Regions from separate parts of the Homo sapiens genome. Here region 1 is linked to region 2. The links are contacts of gene promoters, found by promoter capture Hi-C in blood cells and fetal thymus (Javierre and others, 2016). All regions are on one chromosome and are shown on one strand. Each heading gives the region's core, a stretch centred on a gene start or on the middle of the fragment in contact. The rest is flanking DNA. Distances are from core to core; before and after follow the strand shown. Region 1 has its middle 82 kb from the start of GUCY1A1. Region 2 holds the start of GUCY1B1 (guanylate cyclase 1 soluble subunit beta 1).

Region 1 (4,902 bases), core at 1,668-4,167, 170 kb after region 2:
TGGGATAAACTCAAAGCCTGGGTTCAATGAAGATATCCCGACTCACTGTTATGTGGCTTGAAATTACCATGGACTTCGTTTTTGTTGTTGTACTTGGATAACTGACATTTAAGTAGTCAGCTTCCTCCAGAAGCTTCTAAGGCATCCTAGTATTTATTCAAGATATGAAAAAATTATGCCTACAATGGCTGGTGCCTATAAAATCTTGCAAAAGCACTGACTTTGAATATTTGATTTTTTTCTTCCTTTAGAAAGATAACATTTATAAAAAGGGTATATGAATAGATAGGATTACCAAAGATAAGGTAAATAAAAGCATAATTCCTAACACCATGAAAGAATATTTTCAAGTTATTACAAAGTTTAAAAACTGAGGTTTAAACAAGAAAGACACAAGGTATGATATCTTTATGAGTGAGACCAATAGCTCTCTGGTGGCCTAAATATTTGCCTTCCTAGTCAGTGACTGGATTTCCATGACTGTTACCCATCTTTTTAAACTAAGCACATATTTATTGCAAGCCAACTATGTGCTAAGCACTATTGAAGGAGCTAGAGATATAGCCAGGAAAATAAGTCCCTGCCTTCTTGAAACTTATTTTATAGCTAGAGAAAAGGGTTAATCAAACATATAAGTAAATATATCATATGCCAATAATTATTAAGAGCTGTGGGAAAAAATAAAGCACAGTAAGGGACCAGGTAGTGGGGAAGAGGGAGAGGGGCAGCATGGATACTGCTTCCTCTTTCCTAAAGAATTGTCATGGAAGGGCTCAGTGATAAGGTGACATTTCAGCAGATAACTTCATGAAATGAGGGAGTAAGATACACATATATCTGAGAGAAAAGCATTACAGGAAGAGGAAACATCAAAGGCAAAAGCCCTCAGGTAGGGGCTTGACTGAGAAGTCAAGGAACATTGAGAAGGCCAATGTGGCCAAAGGGAAGTGAACAAGGGGAATAGTGGTAGAAGACATTGTGTGATAAAAGAGATGCATGTGATTTATTGAATAAAACATCCCTAGGTATTCCCTGGTTTTATTGAACTTGTAGGTCAGGGTGAGAAATCTGTCCATGATATTTTGGAAGAATTTGAAGCATGACCTGCATGGCAAACTAGGAAGGCAAAGATTTAGAAACCAGTGAAGGAAAACAAGATCTGACTGTATCGCCTGAAAAAAAGCCATTCTTAGGTCTCATTTGAGGTGCTTCCATTTACTTGAGGTGTGACTGAGGGATATCTTCTAATTCATTTGGTGCTGCCTACGCTGTTCACTATTTGAATCCTCATTGCAAAGCTCCACCTTGTCTCTTGAAAGTTTTAAGGGCAATTGCATAACTTATCAACCAAACTAGAAGAGTATAATAGGGTGCAAGTAAAATTATGACAGAATAACACAAAAATCTGGACCGTTGCAGGGAAACTCACATGTGTGGTCATTCCACTTAAATCTAGGAACTCAGCATCTTTGTAGCCAGCGCTGGCTACTGGATGCTGGTGAAGCTGGAAACACTGAGCTGAGTGTTGAGGCTTGTGAGATGCACCGCTCAGTCATTCCTCCAGGTTTTGCTAATCCACCAGGGTGCTGCAAGGGAGCTGGACATAGATCTACAATACCAAAAGTCCCATGGACCTAGTCTCCATCCAGACATAAGGAACCTCATCATTACTCTCCAAGTTTGAGCCTTCCCATATTCAAAGTACATGTGGATTCTCTTGTCCTTACTTGTAAAATATCCTCAAGAGTTCAGGCTTTAAGAATATAAAAGGTAGGTAGAAACAGAAAATGTTTTTTAGGTACATTTAACTGTTATCTACACAATAAAATTTAGCTCTTTTGTGAGAGTGGCAAATAATTCCTTTCTTCTCCTCATTATTTCAGAATTATTTGAGAGGTAGACAGAGATTACCAAGAGAGAGATCATTAGGCCAGCTGTATTACTGATAAAGCTGATTGGAGAGGTGGTTTTAGATGTGTGGCCAAATGCACTAGTAAATACTTTACATCTTGACAATTAGACCTATTCATCCACTTAGTAACCAGCATACTGGACAACTTCAGGTCTCCTCAGAAGGGACAGAGCCCCCTGAGAGAAGGTCAGAACATGAATGGGTAGAGGATGTGACAGGCTGGTTTCAAAAGACAGAGTCTAGAAGGGGCTCCAATCCTACCCCACGGAGAAATTACTTTTTCTTCTATTGTGAGTGCTGTGGTCTCAATGTATGTGCTCCTCCAAAATTCATATGTTGGAATTTAGACCCTGAAGTGATGGTATGAAGAGGTGGGGCTTTTGGGGAAGTGATTTAACAATGAGGGCTTTGCCCTCATGAATTGATGAGTACTTTCTAAAAGTAGTCAAAGGGAGTGTGCTTGTCCCTTTTTAGCCCCTTCCACCATGAGAGGATACAGTAAGGGAGAGGAGCCCTTGCCAGACACTGAATCTGCTAATTCCCTCTTGGACTTCTCAGTCTCTGTAACTGTGAGAAGATTCATTTCTGTTTTGTTATAAATTATCCAAAGTATTTTGGTTTAGCAGCACAAATGAACTAAGAGAATGAGCTTCAAGGCAAAAGGAGCTTTCCCATAGGAGCTTTCATCTCTAATTTTTCAGCAGCAAAAACAAATACACAAAAAACCAACAAGTTAATATTTCAGTGCATAATTTTGCCTAAACCATGGGCTTTCTGAGTACAAACCTTTAAAAAAGAAGATAACTCTCTTGTCCTAATGTTTAGTTAGTTCATAGTAGGTTTTTATTTTCATTATCATTATCATTATCATTATCATTATCATTATCATTATCATTATTTGAGACAGAGTCTCCCTCTGTTACCTAAGCTGGAGTGCAGTGGTGCGATCTCGGCTCACTGCAACCTCTGCCTCCCGGATTCAAGCGATTCTCCTGCCTCAGCCTCCGAGGTAGCTGGGACTACAGACCCATGCCACCACGCCCGGCTAATTTTTGTATTTTTGGTAGAGACGATGTTTTGCCATGTTGGCCAGGCTGGTCTCGAACTTCTGACCTCATGTGATCCACCCCGCCTTGGCCTCCCAAAGTGCTGGGATTACAAGCGTGAGCCCTCAGCCCAGCCAAGTTTTCAATATATATTAGTTATGCATGCCTGCATGAACAAATGAATCATGACTTTTTCATTTTATTTCCCTAAACAGAAACTTTCAGTTGACTTAATTGAATTTATAAGTTATTTCTTATCCTAGAATCCAGCACGTTTTTATCTTGTCCTAAGAAAACTTACCACATTATCTTCTACACTTGCCAATATAATCTTTCCATTCCTGTCCAATGGATCTAGTGAAAATTAGTTGTGCCATGCTCACTTTCATTTTATGATTGTTTAGATTGTATTACTTTTTTCCCTGTTGTAATCCTCTACATCATTCTTCAATCTCGTGTTGAAACTACATATTTTTTCTCATAAATTGCTTATTAAGGAAGCCAAAGTTTTCTCTTCTCCTCAGACTACTATAACTTATACTGATTCATGCAACTCAATTGTTACTTTTCAAATATTTCCTTGTTTGGCTGCCATATATATTTTTTCTCTTCAATTAATAAAATTCTTGAGAATAAGAAACATACCTACATTTTTCCCCCTTGCTTTCATGCCTAGAAGAGCACTGAGCAGATAATAACTGCTAAGTACATCTCACCGACGGTGTTAAATAAACAAAAGCCTGACATGCTACGTAGTTTCCTGCCTGTGCTCTGCAGTTTAATGGCCAACAGAAGGTCTTTTGTGGCAATTTATGTTTCTGAGTCAAGAGCATTGTAATCAAACATCCTCCAAACGAAGTCAGAAGTTAAACTCCTGCCACTGTCTTCCCCTTTTCCAAGCACAGAAGACTATTTTTCTAAGGAAATTCTGAGAAATTATCTTTCATCATAATTAGTACATAATTCCAACTCAGTTAACCTTTGCATGTTACATGATAACATCTCCTTGGTTTAGCTTCAGGAAGTGATGATGTCATACAGTGTAGGTGGGGAGCATATACTATTACAACACTTTTGGAGGACAACCTAGCAATGATATCACATGCCTGAAAATGTATAAAATCTTGGCTATTAAGTTCTGGTTTCTTATCCTGAGGGATTAGTCAGAAATATGTGCAGGATTTAGATGAGAATTTTGTGACATTATGAAAAGTGGAAAACAAGTTCTATGTCAAGAAATAAAGATTGATAAAATAAACTAATATATGTATCGTGTATGTGTGTTATGTGTCAACATAAATGGTTATGAAAAATAAAATAATTTTATCTGTATAAGAGTAAAAAAAGATGAAAATTTTAAAAATTAAAAATTGATTAAGAAATGCAAAATATGCAAACATAACAGATAAAATGGAGGAAGTTATAAACATTTACACAATGGTGATACTGGTGTTTATCACTAGATAAGTGGAGTGATATGTATTTTTCTCTTATTCAATTACTATTATCCTATATTTATTTTGGTTACCTTGGGTTGCTCTGGAAATGAGTAAAAACAGAATTCATTTTAAATTAAAACAAAGGTATTAAAGTATGTAATTGTCTAGGACATTTGAAAAAGATCTATATATTCAATCAATTTAATAACACTTGTGAATACCCAATTAATTCCGGAGAGGGGTTGTGAGGTGGGGTTCACACACTTTTGAGGTAAATGGGCTCTAGGTCGAATAAAAGGATGAAGTTATCAAGGTTTGAAAAATATTTTTTACCTGGGTACACTGGAAAAATCTATCCTTTCCTAGAAGCTAATGGCCTTTATGCACAGCAATCTGCTACAGCAGCCTGCACAATTTTATTTGCCTCCTCCAGATGATGTGCATACTAATTAGTCATGAGAATTCCCTTTTCACAAGGTCAAAGAGTTAATGTTAGAAGCATGGT
Region 2 (5,135 bases), core at 1,165-3,664:
CATTGTCATAGCATATCTACCAGCAAATTTGGGAATTTCTATCTTACAGATGCAAAAGCATCATATGGAGAATATATATATATATAGCATTTATAAATTTACAAAGGAAGTGGCTTAAAAATAATTCGGTAGTTAAGTTATACTGTTAACAATCTTTTTTTGATGTCTGCCTTGTTGATATCTGTCTACTAAGCAAAATAAAAATTATAATGGTATTAAGATGGCCAGAAAATTCAAATCCTAAAGTAACTTTTGGTGCCTATGTTCTCATTGGATTCAACCACATACTTGCCAAATCTCGGCTTCTGTTTATAATATGTAGGTAATATGCCCTGTGGATAATACAAATGGTTTCTGAAACATGAAAGAAACGCTCAGTGATACAGATCCAGGGGAAAGAAAAGTTACATTTTCGTGCTTAATATATAACCCTGGTCATTTCTATGGAAACAGATCGTTATGAGAAATCACCATCATGTAACTGCATAATAAGGCCTGTTAGAATTGATTGCTAATAATTGTAATGTGCTTAGGGAAAAACAGCATGGAAGCCTCACCTACCTGAGACAACAAAATGAAATCACTAAGTACAGGAAATCAGAGTGAATAATAACAGTGTATTCCCATCTGCCCACCCAGGAAACCCTTCCTTCCACCTTTGTTACAATGTGATAGTCTGACTGTTGCTCTAATATGAAAATCCATAAATAGGGTTTTGGAGTAGCTAGTTGGTGGTGGTCAGCTGTACCATAAGTTAAATGCAAATTTTTTGAGAGTGAGAGGAAAAAGGAGAGACAACTTTATTAGAGTGAAATAGTCAACCTGCCTGCAGACATGCTGACCCATCAGTCATTCCAACAGGTTTAAACTCTCAGGTGGGTGTGGTATTTCCGTTCACATCCCCAGTACTGGGCTCAAAGCTCCAGGACTGAAAGTAGAATGCCTCCTAGAACTGTTAAGTCTTCAACACAGTAGAAAAAAACGGGGGATAGGGGTTGGGGCGGGGGGGGTGGGCAGTGGGATTTGGGGAAAACAAAAAACTTCCAATTTTCACTTTATTTAAAAATGAATAAATGCGCTTAATTCACTGTTGCTCAAGAAATAATCTCCCGCGTGTTTCAGCATACCAAAAAGGCCTAACTTACGCCAGGTGTGTAAATCATAAAGGAGCCAAAGTCTTCCGTTTGTTTCTAAGGCCTCCGGGCGCAGGAACCTCGCGGAGGCCCGTGTGGTCCCTCGGGGCTCTGCACGCGTGGGAGCTGCCCGGCCTGCTGAGCCTGGGAGCGCCGGCAGCGCGTTCCCACGCTCAGGCCGGGTCGGGAAGCCGTGGTGACCCCTAGGGGCTCCTTTCCGCGGTTCTCGCCCTCGCAGCCCCGCCCCAGCCGCCCCTCCCCTCCTGGTTCCAGTCCCGGAGCGTGGGAGCGCAGCTGCAGCGAGCCGGGAGCGAGGCGCGGAGGCACCTCCAAGGATGCGCGCCCGCGACCCGGCCAGCAGGCTGAGGACCAGGCGAGGCGCGGGGGGCCTCCCACACTGGGCGCCGACCTGGGCCACAGCCAGGGTAGCCGGCCACTTACTTGATGTCTTCCCACACCTCGGGGCCGTAATTGCGGATCACCAGCAACTCCAGGGCGTGATTCACAAATCCGTACTGCGGGGACAGGGAGAGACTTGAGCGTCAGGGACCCGCTGTACCTGAGAAGCGGCTTGGGGGCGAGGCTGCTGCCTCTGCTCCCATGGCGCTGGCTTAACCTTTCACCCCGCCCCTGACTCCTCTCCCTTAGGGGTACTATGCACTAAAGGAGTCGGATCGTGGGGGCGCAACCCCCCAATCCCTGGTGGATTCTCCCCGTCACCATCCGCCCCACCCCCACGCTATCTTCCCACCCTCCTCACCTGTCACCGCTCCGGGAGAGGCTGGGCATCGGGGGCAGCGCGGGGACGCGAACCCGGAGCCTTCCCTTCCGCTGGCGCTCAGCCTCCCACACTGGTGGGGCCGGCCAGAGCCGGGAAGACCCCACGCCTCCGCCGCACCTCCCCTTCCCGAGCTCAGGAAGCTGCGGTGTGGAGCGGCAAACCCGCCTGGGAAGCAAAGGCACCGATCGCCCCCGCCACGACTCGCGGCGTTCCCACCTCCCCTGACTGGGCGCGGGCAAGGAGTGAGGCTGCTCCCGTGGCCGGCAGTGAGCGCCCAGGGCCCCCGAGCCAAGCTCCGGCTGCGCGGCCAGTTCCCTCGCTGCCAGGCCGGCCGAGGAGGGGTGAGGTTCGGGCCGCACCCGGCTGAGAGCACTTACCATGGTGTCTGCACCGGGAGCCGGGGAGGCAGCCCCCACGCAGAGGTACGGCCGAAGGGACCCAGGCAGAGGCGGCAGCGGCTACAGCGCAACCGGGCCGGGGAGGCAGCATCGAGCTGGAGCGAGAACAGCCGCCTTGGCCCGCCCTGATTGCCACCTCTTCCCAGCCAATGGCGAGTCGAGCCGCAGGGGGCTGGTCGGTGCTCCCCAGTTCTTCAACCAATCAGGGACAGAGGAGGGAATTCGGATGCTCTCAATGCTGCTGCGCTCCAGTGCCTTCCCGCCCCCGCCTGGTGACAAGGCCTTCATTTGAGGCCATAACAATGACAGTGGAGAAGCCCCAGCCGTGCTCCTTGCATGAATTCTGGAGCAGAGGAAATGCAGCTCTTGTGGACCCACTAAATGTATTATTATTCAGAGATCTGCCCTCAGTGGTTAACACAAGCAAAAGGGAACAGGGCGTGTTTGTTGTGTGAGCGTGTACGTGTGTACTTTGCAATGGACAGACCTTAAAAGGAATATCCTCTGTTGCTGGCATCCTCATGCTTATCTTTGTCTAGCGGAAAAACATTTCCTCTGTGGCTTGGTCCCACAACAGTTTATGGCAAATTTAAAGCTGGTAATATTGAGAAAAACATATTTTCACTTCTAGTCAATGAGACTAGTTGAGTGAAGCACCAAAAATTTTCAGTAATGTAGTTTGGTGGACGTTATGTTAAATCCAGTCCTGCCCTTTACTAAACTGTACAAGATCCAGCGATATTCTAGGCTTGATCCCTGTGGGACACCTTTCCCTACACCATGTCCGGGAGCCATAATTCCAGGGAGTTTGTAACCCTCTAGAGCGGGCCTCTGTTGCTGTTTCTTAGCAACAGACGAACTGGAAAATGACCAGTACAAAATGCACAGACTTTAACTACTCTACCTCCAGCTTACATTCTACCAGGCCCTTAGGTTAGTTAATGCTCTGAGTCCTGCCATAGAGAGAAGATGAGAGGAACAGGAAGTGGCAGCTTATTAAAGCTGTTTGTACCTGAGGTATATGGACTCCAGTTGACTTTTAGGGCAAGGTCAAAAGTGAGGTCACCAGTCTCAAGTGGACCTGAGAAGCCAGATGGTATTTTAAGATGTGCATATTTTGTTGTGAGAACAGTCTCAATATGGTTAGAGAAAAATGTCAAAACAATAAGATTGTGCTGACATCAGCACCGAGAGAGCTATGATGAAGGAAACTGATACAGAAATAGTGGCATGTAGCAAACAAACAAAACAACAAATTACTTTAAAAATTTCCATTATTGGTGGAATGAGTAAATAGATTACAGCCTTTCATACAATCTAACACCTTGTTTTAAACAACTATTAAAACATTAATCATTATTTAACAACAATTAACCACTAATTTTGAACCATTAAAATGGCACATTAAACAACCATGAAAAAGCAGGAGGGTGACTAGAAAATGATGATGCAGAAAAGTATTGTCAGGTTTACAAAACACCACAAGAATGTAATCATTTTCCATTTTTTAGAGTTAGTATACAGTAAGGTGCTATGTGGGTAATAACACAGGCACATACATGTTGCTGTAAGAATAATGGTTTGGGAGGAAACACAGGAAGTGTTGATATGGCTATCGTCTGTAATTAGAACCAGTGGCTGGAATGGCCATGACTCTTACTTTTTATAACTTTCTGTATCTTTTGATTATTTTTCTACACAGATGAATTTTCTTTACTGTTACATAACTGAATTTTTTTTAACTTTTATTTTAGTTTCAGGGGCACATATGCAGGTTTGTTATATAGGCCAATTACATGTCTTGGGGGTTTGGTGTACAGATTACTTTGTCACCCAAGCACTAAGCATGGTACCCAACAAATAGTTTTTTGATCCTCACCCTCTTCCCACCTTCCATCCTCAAGTAGGCCCCAGTGGTCATTGTCCCCTTCTTTGTGTTCATGTGTACTCCGTGTTTAGCTCCCACTTGCAAGTGAGAACATGTGGTATTTGGTTTTCTGTTTCTGTTAATTTACATAGGATAATAGTCTCCAGCTCCGTCCATGTTGATGCAAAGGACATGATCTCATTCTTTTTGATGTCTGCATAGTATTCCATGGTATATATGTACCACATTCTCTATCCAGTCTACCACTGATGGACATCTAGATTGAGTCCATGTCTTTGCATATAGTGAATTCACATATTAATTCACATATATTCACAAGTATTCATTTTGTGAATAGTTTATTTCATTCCATGTGACTAGTGCTGTGATGAACGTATATGCATGCATGTGCCTTTATGGTAGAATGATTTATACTCCTTTGGGTATATACTCAATAATGAGATTGCTGGGTCAAATGATGTTTCTGTTTTAAGTTCTTTGCGAAATCACCAAACTGCTTTCCACAATGGCTGAACTAATTTACATTCTCACCAGCACTATATAAGAGTTCCCTTTTCTCTATAACCTTGCCAGAATCTGTTGTTATTTGACTTTTTAATAATATACATAAAATAACTTTTAACTTGCTAAAAAAACTTAAAAAAAAAAACTATGTCTCTTATCTGTTCACCTTTGAGCAGCAATGGACCCATGCTCTCTGGTTTACGGTGTGTTGTGGTGTCCTCCACCTTAAACTTTACATAGGCAAAAGATAAGGAGATTGAATTGTTCTCTGGGAATGAAAAATGAGGAAAGCTCACTTAGAGAAAGATATGAGAGGAAATGAATAATGAGCATTTCTGCCAATGTCCCTTTCTCTCTGTCTCTTTCTCTCTATTTCAGTTCTTCTACCCTCACTTTCCCTTTTGTCCAATAACTTTTTGCACTTGTTGTTG

The links. Contacts are between HindIII fragments. The CHiCAGO score rates a contact against its expected background, and 5 or more counts as called.
Region 1: a fragment that was not itself captured here is called in contact with the fragment with the promoter of GUCY1B1 in region 2 in 1 of 17 cell types (M2 macrophages); the score reaches 5.8 in M2 macrophages.

What each region holds. Positions count from the first base shown.
Region 1 is chr4:155,582,170-155,587,071 of GRCh38, reverse strand. No RefSeq gene overlaps it. Among named protein-coding and RNA genes, the nearest start is that of GUCY1A1, 82 kb to the left of the region's middle. The HindIII fragment of the contact is 5,564 bases long and covers 136-4,902 here.
Region 2 is chr4:155,756,300-155,761,434 of GRCh38, reverse strand. GUCY1B1 (guanylate cyclase 1 soluble subunit beta 1) reads right to left here and starts at 2,414. Exons shown (of 14, transcript NM_000857.5): 1 at 2,292-2,414; 2 at 1,575-1,648. The coding sequence starts at 2,294. It overlaps LOC105377506 (a long non-coding RNA gene), which reads left to right and starts at 3,020. Exons shown (of 8, transcript XR_007058484.1): 1 at 3,020-3,245. RefSeq lists silencers at 1,367-1,636, 2,087-2,236. The HindIII fragment of the contact is 7,462 bases long and covers 1-5,135 here.